2 separate regions of the Homo sapiens genome follow, and region 2 is linked to region 1. The links are contacts of gene promoters, found by promoter capture Hi-C in blood cells and fetal thymus (Javierre and others, 2016). All regions are on one chromosome and are shown on one strand. The core of a region is centred on a gene start or on the middle of the fragment in contact, and the rest is flanking DNA. Distances in the headings are between cores, read along the strand shown.

Region 1 (5,591 bases), core at 1,029-3,528:
ATTTCTTGAGAAATAGCAATTTAAAGATTTCAAAATATAATATTGACCTGTTCAAGTTTGGGCTGTTTCTTATCTCAGTTTTCAAATAAGATGGAAATTTGCCTTTTTACATATAGGCCAGATATTGACTGCGCTTTTACAGGAACTTCTCAGAAACAAAAGACCTCAAAGATATTGATATTTCAGAATGTAATCTGTTATGGTTATGATTATTTTCTCCATTTTTAAAAAATTTGTGATCAGCAATTCTAATGTTGATATAATGTTGCCAGTATTCCAGTTGGGACCAATTCAAAGAATTATAGCAACTCCTCAATTGCTATTTTAAGAACAGACATAATGTAGCCCAATCATCTCACTTTACTGACGTTATCTGAAGTCCAGGGAGAAGTTATGCAAGTTAATCAATATCATCCTTATCTAGATGGGGGAGATATAAGAGCCAGAACCCAGGTCTCCCAAGTGCTGAGAAAAAACCCAAATATTAGTAATTATTAATAGTTTAAGGATTAATAGTTTAAGGACACACATTATTAATAGTTTAAGGATGAAGTTAAATTTCTTAGACCTTTCACAACACACGTTGAGCAGACAGGAAATACCACTAGAAGACTTTATAAAGTATTTCTCAGCAGATCCTTGCTAATTTCGCCAGCCAGCATCATCGTCCTGGCCCATGTGCCACCCATTATTCCAGTGAGGCCAGAGGGAAAATCGCTGCTCTAGGTTTATGAAAAAGGACAAAGTTTTCCTTTCTGAAATTTCTCTCTGGAGACCCAGATTTTAAAATGAATAGTAGCTAGTACCGGCACCTTTGTTTAAACCACGTTATGCCACCAGAAAAAAACATCTGGGGGCATAATAAACTCACGGGCCCTTTTCTTTTGTTACTTTCCTCTAGTACTCCGTCTCGTCAAGGATCACATTAAAAGTTCTTTTGAACCGCTATGCCCTGAGTGTCTAGGAAACACATTTCACGTTCCACAGGGGTATGAACTAAGAAATACCTTAGCAGGAAAGTAAGAGGTACACCGGGCTAGGTCTTTGGTGGAACACCTGCGCAGAGGTTCTTGGAGACATTAGGACACCCTAGTTAGTTTCCTCCATTCTGTAAAAGGCCCTCTGGATATTCATTTCAAGCCAAATTATGAAACTTGTGCCTGGTGTCCAAATCTATCTTTATGGTATTTTAAAATGAAAATGAGAATATTCGGGGGAAAAAGTTATTTTTAAAAAGAGGAAAGAGTTGTCCAAAAGTTTTAGAGGAAGGAAACACTCTAAGATGCATCAGACTGCGAGCCACACTCAAATTCTCACACGGCTGGCATTTAATCCACATCTAATCTTGGCCCCTCAAGAATCCCTCCAGGTTCCGGGAGACTGGGGCTCCCGGACCTGCTGACCTGCTGACCTGCTGACCTGCTGGACGTGCAAGGGTTCATAGCAGTTCCCCGTTTGACCTTGCAGCAATTTCCTGGGCAGGAAATCTGTCAAATCTGTTGCAATAGCTCGGGAAAAAGCAAACCCGAACCCCAAACCCTCACACCCCCACCCTCGCGAGCCGGGTCCAGAGTGGAGATCAGCGGAGGGGACCCTGGGGACCCGCTGCGCTCGAGGGCCACGCCTGGGGGCACGCGTTCACGAGGCCAGATCCTGGAGCTGCCCCCGGCGTCGGACCCGACGGGCTTGACAAACGGGTTCCTGACAGCCCCGAGGGGCCCGTGCTGGCGCTCCCAGGGCTCCCGGGACTGGGAGCGCCACTTACCTCGACTGCTCTGCGGGGCGCTGCGGGGCGCGGGAAGGCGGCGAGACTCCGGCCGGGAAAGCGACGCGCGGTGCAGACTGCCGCACCCGGGCTCCAGGTCGCTGCCCCGGGGAGGAAGTGCTGTCAGCCCTGCCCTTCCCACGCAGCGCGCAGACGTGTGGCGCTATCCGAGCTGCTTTGCTCCGAGGTGCAAGGAAGGCCCCTGGTTAGAGACAGTGGGACAGACAAACATATGCGTAAAGGACTCCGAGTTAGGGGCTGCTTTCTCCAACTCATCGAGTCTGCGCCTGATTTTCTCTCCCCCATCCCACCCCTACTACACAACCACCTTGAAGGGATTTTTATTTTATTTTATTTTATTTTATTTTAATTCTGGGAAACGTTGCGCCTCCCCCTACCTGTGCCGCGCGCGCCCTTCTCTCAGGAGCGTCTCCTGGCGAATGGAACCATTTTGCAGCCTCGACGCAAGAGGGACTAAGGGATTGGGGCCTAGTGATGGTTCCACCAAAGACTGAGAGGCCGCTTTATGTTGCAACGGTCTCCCAAAGTGTTTACTTCAGCACTTTCTGGGCTTCCTCTTTTGGGCCGGTTGTGCAAGGCTTCCCGGCCGCCTGCAGCCCGCCCTCAGGGGACGCGGTGCAGGGCTGGACTGGCAACACGCGCGTCCCGGCCGGAGTTCAGCTGTCTCTCGGGTGGGGGTGGAGGAAGGGCGCGCTGGGCGGAGGCCCTTTCTCAACCATCAGGTTGGTAACCTCACCCTCCTCCCTCCCCACGTTTAACCACGCTCAGTTGGCCGGCCAGGGTGTAGAGGAATAGCACTGTCTTCATTGCTCGTAGAAATCCAAAATGGTCTGAACCCCGTGGAAGAGAATTGAGCAATATCTATTTAACTTATGTATGGATTCGCCTTTTGACCCCGTCATCCCACTTCCAGGAGTGTGTTACGAAGATCTGCTGATGAAAATAAGTAATGCACACGGCAGAGGGCATTCATGGACTCACTATTTGCAACAGCATAGGACTGGCTGGAAATAGCACCTGTCAGTTGGGAGTGGAGTTTCCTGAGAGAAAGTCGCTGGGGAGGTCTGAAAATACAGAAGTTAAAATCAGTTATGATTTGTAAATGCGGTTGAATAACCCTCCCCTTCTCCTCTACAGCTGTGTCTTCAAAGGCTTATATGTCAGGGAAGGTGGTGAAGACATAAAGACAGAAATTAGGTGCATGTGTTAATTAGGCAATTTCAAATAGTTCTGTCATTTATTTAATGAGAAACTATTCGTAAGCACCAACACTTCTAAGAACAATGAAAATAGTTAGAGGAAACAATTTCTGCTCTCATGCATGGTGCATTCTAGTTGGTAGAAAGCAGACAATAAACAAATTAATATTTAACATGTCAAGGAATGTAACTAGTTTTGAAGGAAGTTAAAAGGTGAGGGATAGAGAGTGATGGGCATGGGGATGGGGTTGCTGTATTAATTAGGGTAAATAAACGATAAATAAATAGAAAATATATTTTCTCCTCATGATTTTCTTAATAACAGTTTCTTTTCTCTAGCTTTCTTTATTGTAAAAATACAGTATTTATCTAAATACATATAACATAATATGTGTTAATTGACTGTTTAATATTATCAGTAAGGCTTCTGGTCAACAGTAGGCTATTCGTGGTTAAGTTTTGGGGGAGTCAAAAGACATACATGGATTTTCAATTGTGCAGCAGTTTGGTACTCCTGAAATCTGGCATTGTTCTGTTACAGTAGGTAGCTAGTCAGGCATGAGCAGGGCAGGAGAGGGCTCCTCCCACCCCCTACCAGGAATGTCAGGTGACCATCAGGTGATGATCAAGCAGTTGTTATCAGCCTTACTGATAACATAGTCGATTAACTCATATTATTTTATATATATTAAATACTGTATTTTTATAATAAAGTAAGCCAGAGAAAAGAAACTGTTATTAATAAAATCATAAGGAAGAGAAAATGTATTTTTCATTTATTTATTTATTATTTATTTATCCTAATTTTTTTTAATATAGCACCAGGGAAAGGCAGTCTCCCAATAGACAGAAACACCTGAAACTGGTATTTCTGTCTGATAAGTGACACTTGAGCTAGATCTAAATGGCATGAGAGATTAATCCACACTGGGTTTTTAGATGGGAATATTCCAGGCAAAAGGAACAGCACATTCAAAGACCCTGAGTTAGGAGAGCACTTAAGATATTGGAAAAACACCAAGGAAATTAGTACGGCTGAGCAGAGTGAGATGGGAGGGACAGACATGAGATGGGATCAAAAGGAAATGGTGCCCAGATTGTGTGCTATTTGGGAGCTGTGGAAGAGAATTTGATGTGAGTGAGATGGAAAGCCAGTGGAAGGTTCTGAGCAGAGTTGTAAGTGCTACATAAAATATAAAATCAAACAATGAGAGTGACTTTCTTGGGGCAGGGAAAGTGGTCAAGGATCACCTCTTTACAAAGTAATGAGAAGGGGCAGCCATTCAGAAACTTGGGAAAGGATTCCAAGAGAAGGAAGAACAAGAAGAGGGGCTGAGATAGGAACATAGAAAGTTCAAAAGAAGGCAGGCCAGTGTGCCTGGAATGTTCTGAAAGAGTAGGGCAGCAATAGTGGATGGGGACAGAGAGGTAAGCAGGAACCAGAACAAGCAGGACCTTGTAGCCAGCATTGAGGACTTTAGGTTTTATTCTAATTGCAATGGGGGACTATTGGAATGTATTTAGCAACTGAGTGCATGATTTGACTTAAGCGATAAGCCATCCTGCCAGTTGGTGATTGTTCAGAAAATCAATTGATTGAAGCAAGAGAAGAGAGATTCCTCAGTAGACTATGGTCAGAGTCCAGATGAAAAATGATAGTAGCTTTATTAGTATTCTAACAGTAGATATGGTGAGAAGAGTTTGGAATCAAGATACAGTTTTCAAAATAAAACCAAAGCTTGGCACAGTTGCTCATGCCTGTAATATCAGTGCTTTAGGAGGCCAAGGTGGTAGGATCACTTGAGGCCATGAGTTCAAAACTAGCCTGGACAACATAGCAAGACCCTATCTCTACAAAAATGGGGGAAAAAATTAGCTGGGTATGGTGGCTTATGCCTATGGTTCCAGTTGCTTGGGAGACTGAGGCAGGAGGATTGCTTGAGCCCAGGAGTTCAAATCTGCAGTGAGCTATGATGATGCCACTGTACTCCAGCCTGGGCAACAGAGCAAGACTATTTAAACAAACAAACAAACAACCACCTAGCAAAGTAGAACCAATAGCATTTGCTGATGGGTGGGCTGGGAAATGGGATGGGAGTAAGGGAGTGGCAGAGGGATTAGAAACTGAATGGAAACCAGTATGATTGGAGTTATGGAAGGTCTGGTTAGAGGTAAGGTCAGTAGGGGCAAACCATGTAGGGTCATGTGGACTATGTCAAGAATTATTTTCTCATCCTAAGAGCAATGAGAATATATTAAATAATATTTTAAGCTGGCAAATGATGGGATTTATGCTTTAGGAAAATCACTCTGGCATAATTTGGGGAACGGATCAGATGAAGAAAAGAATAGATGCAGGAAGACTTCTGAGCTAAGTTGGGAAAGAAAATACAATTGGCCTTTGAACTGCCAGCAGCAGAATATATCTGAGACACGGCACCAAAATATGTTAGCTTTGGCAAAACCATATGGGTCTGTAGCGACCTAAATTCTTGCCTCCTCAGAAGAAAGAATTCAACTGAGGGGCATAAGGCAGAAGAAGAGACTAAGGCAAGCTTTAGAGCAGGAGCGAAAGTTTATTAGAAAACTGTAGGGCAGTAACAAAA
Region 2 (5,305 bases), core at 1,604-4,103, 91 kb before region 1:
TACACTGGAATCTCTGGGATGAGGCCTGGAAATCTGCATTCCAATATGCTTTCCAGATGATTTTTATGCACACTGAAGTTTGGGTTTTTCTTATCGTTGGCTTTTCTTTAGAGACAAGGTCTTGCTCTGTTACCCAAGCTGGAGTGCAGTCACATGATCATAGCTCACTGCAGCCTTGAACTCCTGGGCTCAAGCAATCTCCCCTGCTCAGCCTTCTAAATAGCTGGGACTATAGGCATGTGCACCATGCCTGGTCATGCTGAAGTTTGAGAATCAAGTGTACTGGACAGAAAGGAAAAAAACTGCAGACAAATAAAATGTAGAAGTTTAAAATATCTCCTTGAAATACAATGCATAAAAAAGGTGATTTGCTAACTTTTTTTTTTTTTGAGACGGGGTCTCGCTCTGTCACCCAGGCTGGAGTCCAGTGGCGCCATCTCGGTTCACTGCAAGCTCCGCCTCTCAGGTTCATGCCATTCTCCTGCCTCAGCCTCCCGAGTAGCTGGGACTACAGGCGCCCGCCATCGCGCCCGGCTAATTTTTTGTATTTTTAGTAGAGATGGGGTTTCACCATGTTAGCCAGGATGGTCTCGATCTCCTGACCTCGTGATCCGCCTGCCTCGGACTCCCAAAGTGCTGGGATTACAGGCATGAGCCACCGCGCCTGGCTGCTAACTTAAATAGAGGAAATAAGTCAAGCACAATTTTTTTTGTTTTTTTGAGACAGCGTCTTGCTCTGTCACCCAGGCTGGAGTGCTGTGGTGCAATCTTGGCTCACTGAAACCTCTGCCTCCTGGGTTCAAGGGATTCTCCTTCCTCATCCTCCCAAGTAGCTGGGATTACAGGTGTGCACCACCATGCCCAGCTAACTTTTTGTATTTTTAGTAGAAATGGGGTTTTTTAATGTTGGCCAGGCTGGTCTCAAACTGCCCCCCTCAGCCTCCCAAAGTGCTAGGATTACAGGCATAAACCACCACGCCTGGCCAAGTACAATTCTTTTGGTAATTCTTATTGAAAAGAAGTTTATTTTAATATGTTTTTCCAAGACTTTTAAACTTTTATTTGTTATTTGAAAGGATGTTATATTGTGAATTAGTGCAATTACAATATAGAATTCAGAAAACTATTTAAATCTTAAATGTTTTGCTTGAAGACCACGACTAGCCATATTAGGTAACATATTCTACCTGCTGGAAACCTATGCTAAGGCTTTACAGATACGATTTTATTTCATCCTCACAAGAACCCCGTAACATAGGTACCATTGCTATTGCTACTTTACAGATGAGGACACAGAGGATTAAGTGATTTTCCCAAGGCCGATTAGTGGCAGAACGTTGAGTTATTAAATAATTTTTTTTTTTTTTGAGACAGAGTCTTGCTCTGTCGCCAGGGTGGAGTGCAGTAGCGCGATCTCGGCTCACTGCAACCTCCAACTCCTGGGTTCAAGCAATTCTCCTGCCTCAGCCTCCCGAGTAGCTGGGATTACAGGCACGCACTACCACGCTCAGCTAATTTTTGTATTTTTAGTAGAGACGGGGTTTCACCATGTTGGCCAGGATGGTCTCGATCTCCTGACCTTGTGATCTGCCCGCCTCGGCCTCCCAAAGTGCTGCGATTACATGCGTGAGCCACCATACCTGGCCAAGTTATTAAATAATTTTTCTCAGCATTAAAATACTCTTAAGTACAGAGCCGGGCATAATGGCATGCACCTGTAGTCCCAGCTACTCCAGAGGCTGAGGCAGGAAGATCACTTGAGCCCAGGTGTTTGAGTCCAGCCTGGGTCACACAGTGGGGGCCTCGTCTCAAAAAAAAAAAAAAAAAGAAAAAGAAAAAAAAGCTTTAAGTACCATAGGGGAGAATCTAGCACAGCAATGTGAATGTACTTAATACCACAGAAGGGTACACTTAAAAATGGTTAAGATGATAAGTCCTATGTTACATATATTTTTCCACAATAACAAAAGATGTGACCCAATATGAGTTCGCCCATTCATACAAGAGTGATTTCAAGGTGCTGCTAGAAAGCAAACCTTGGCTTAGGAAGGCCAGATATTTGAATCACGTATGATGAACTGGAAGCATGAACAGAGAGCATAATGAAGACTCCAAACCCGGGTGCGGTGGCTCACGCCTGTAATCCCAGTACTTTGGGTGGCCAAGGTGGGTGAATCACCTGAGGTCAGCAGTTCGAGACCAGCCTGGCTAACATGGCAAAACCCTGTCTCTACTAAAAATACAAAAATTAATTGGGTTTGGTGGTGGGCGCCTGTAATCCCAGCTACTAGGGAGGCTGAGGCAGAAGAATCACTTGAGACTGGGAAGTGGAGGTTACAGTGAGCTGAGATCATCCCACCGCACTCCAGCTTGGGTGACAAAGCAAGACTCCATCTCAGGAAAAAGGAAAAATTAAAAGAAAAAAAAAGACTCCAGAGCAAGTGTTTGTCATCATCCTTATCTGGGAAAGACAGAGCATCTGTCACCCTCTGCAGGGAAGAACCTGTCTAAACTGTGAAGGGCCACATTTCACCAGGGTGCCCTAAAGAGGCAGGATGTATAGCTGTACCTTTCTCTGAGAACTTTCTCTGACATACTTCTGACTTTTTCAGCTTCAGAATATCCTTCTAAGTGACCATGCTACACTGTTTTTGTTTTTTCTTTTAATGAAATAGCAAAAAACACAAAGCAAATCTGTGCTGGAGGAGGGCAGTCCTTAGAATAAGAATAATTCTTAGAATAATAAGACTGATTGCTTTCGGATCGGAACTTCCACCTGCGGTGTGGGCGCCCACTCAATGCGGGCTGTTCTGTAGAAGTAGTGAGCAGAACTCAACGTTTAGTCATTATATCCTGCAAATGGAAACTGGGTAAACCTGAGTCGAATAATAAAGGAACTTTAAAATGGGAAATGAGACTCTTGGTCATAGCTTGCTCTCTTTTCTCACAGCTTCTGGGAGTGCAACATTTGGGGACAGCTGGATAGGAAAGAAACAGCAAATACTTTTTAAAAATCTTCTTGGAATAAAGAGTAAATCAAGCAAACAGTTATCAGTTCGTGAAGAAATATTTGTGAGTACCCTTTATACATGTAAAACATCCCTGTTCTTTCTTTGGGGAGGGACATATCTCACTCTGTCACCTATGCTGGAGTGCAGTGGCGTGATCATGGTTCACTGCAACCTCCGCCTCCCAGGTTCAAGCAATTCTCCCACCTCAGCCTTGCAAGTAGCTGGGGCTACAGGCACATGCCACCATGGTCAGCTAATTTTTAAATTTTTTGTAGAGATGGGGTCTTGCTATGTTGCCCAGGCTGGTTTGAAACTCCTGAGTTCAAGGGATTCACCTGCCTCGGCCTCCCAAAGTGCTGGGATTACAGGCGTGAGCCACCATGCCTGGCCTCAAATCCCTGTTCTTAAGAAGGTTGCTATCACATGGAGAAGATAAATACAGATCGATCATAGTGAGATGGACAGATGACTCTATATCTGTCAATGGGGAAGATATAAGAGACTACAAAAATTCAAAATGAGCCACAGTCTAGAGATTTTCAGGAAGGAAGAAATTACTATGGACTGCGATGGTCAAGAAAAACTTTACAGAGGGGGTCAAAGTTTGAACGAGGCCTTGAAAGCTGTTCAATGTTCTGGTAGGGAAAAAAAGAATAAGAATAGATTTCCAGGGAGGAGAACAAGCATGCACAAAGGCACAGAGGTGTCTTTGGAGCACTAGTGAGCAGCCAGTCAGGCTAGAGCTATGGGGTTAATGCAGTTCACTGAGTGAAGATCAGACCATCGCTCCCAGTTCTCTGCTCGCTGTCAGGTGACTGGGCAGTAACTTCCCCCAGAATGGGTGAAGCTTATTTCCTTGCTTCACTTACGTTGGGTTTGGCCATGTGACTTGCTTTGACCAAAAGAATGTGGCAGATGGGACGATGCATGGATTCTAAGCAGAGAGCTTGAGGTGCAGAGTGTGTTTCTGTCATTTGCCTGTACTCTTCCCATTGACCGTGGGAAGAATATGTCAGAGTTCTGTGCTATCCAGGGACAATAAGAGAGGCGTGGGGCCAGGCGCAGCGGCTCATGTTTGTAATCCCAGCATTTTGAGAGGCCAAGGCTGTTGGATCACCTGAGGTCAGGAGTTCGAGACCAGCCTGGCCAAGATGGTGAAACCCCATCTCTACTAAATATACAAAATTAGCCGGGCCTGGTGGCACATGCCTGTAATCTCAGCTACTTGGGAGGCTGAGGCAGCAGAATCGCTTGAACCCGGGAGGCAGAGGTTGCAGTGAGCCGAGATCGTGCCATTGCACTCCAGCCTGGGCCACAGGAGCAAAACTCCATCTCAAAAAAAAAAAAAAAAAAAAAAAAGACATGGACCTACCTAAATCTAAGTCTAAGTCATACTCTGGAGCTAAGGACAGGGAGCCTGCAGACCCTGGAGAGAGGAAATGTCTGTTTCTGCAAACCAGTGGGATTCTGAGATAGTATTTTTTTCTTTTTTTTTTTTTTTTGAGACAAGGTATTGCTCTGTTGCCCAGGCTGGAGTGCAGTGGATCATAGCTCACTGCAGCCTTGAACTCCTGAGCTCAAATGATCCTCCCACCTCAGCCTCTTGAGTAGCTGGGACCACAAGTGCATGCCATCACACCCAGCTAATTGTTTGATTTTTGCAGAAACTGGGATCTCACTATGTTTTCCAGGCTGGTCTTGAATTCCAGATTTCAAGTGATCCTCCTGCTCTGCCTCCCAAAGTGTTGGGATTACAGGTGTGAGCCACCATGCCTGGCCTCTAAGGTTGCCTTTCATGCATCAATACACTGACTAATCACACACGCCCACACTGGCTGGTGAGAGGATCCAGGGCACCGAAGTCATGGGTAGACCTTCCTTTAACACATTAGCCCATGCTGGGGACCATAAAGGTGATTACTGTATAACTTTCCTTCTAACCACACCTGGTCCTGGATGGTCAGAGACTGCCCTTGGTGGGCTGAGGGAGGCTGGAAGGGAATGGAAGAATGATGCCACAAGGTATTAATACTTTTCTCCCACAATAGCTGCCAGGCTGTGGCTGAGACACTTCTACACCTGGGCAAAGAAGTTGTGTTTCTGTCTCTGCTCCTCACTCATGCAGCCACCAGTAGAGTATAATCATCATCAAATTTCAGTTAAGAAACAGAATAATCTGTGGAATAAAAGTTGCCTAAAATATCAATAGTGATTATTGTTAAAGAGTGAGATTATGGGTGATTTAGATTTCCTTCCTTATATTTTTCTGAATTTTCCAACTTTTCCTTTTATGA

The links. The method cuts DNA at HindIII sites, captures the fragments that hold promoters and counts their contacts. A CHiCAGO score of 5 or more calls a contact.
Region 2: a contact is called between a fragment that was not itself captured here and the fragment with the promoter of APBB1IP in region 1, in 10 of 17 cell types (total CD8 T cells, naive CD8 T cells, non-activated CD4 T cells and 7 more). The highest score is 8.7, in total CD8 T cells.

Annotation. Positions count from the first base shown.
Region 1 is chr10:26,435,028-26,440,618 of GRCh38, reverse strand. APBB1IP (amyloid beta precursor protein binding family B member 1 interacting protein) reads right to left here and starts at 2,278. Exons shown (of 15, transcript NM_019043.4): 1 at 2,164-2,278; 2 at 1,766-1,967. RefSeq lists enhancers at 1,945-2,024, 2,585-2,714, 2,432-2,961. The HindIII fragment of the contact is 5,297 bases long and covers 1-4,725 here.
Region 2 is chr10:26,526,751-26,532,055 of GRCh38, reverse strand. All of the region lies in intron 8 of APBB1IP (amyloid beta precursor protein binding family B member 1 interacting protein), which reads right to left. Among named protein-coding and RNA genes, the nearest start is that of LINC03028, 50 kb to the left of the region's middle. RefSeq lists a silencer at 2,542-2,591. The HindIII fragment of the contact is 2,015 bases long and covers 1,846-3,860 here.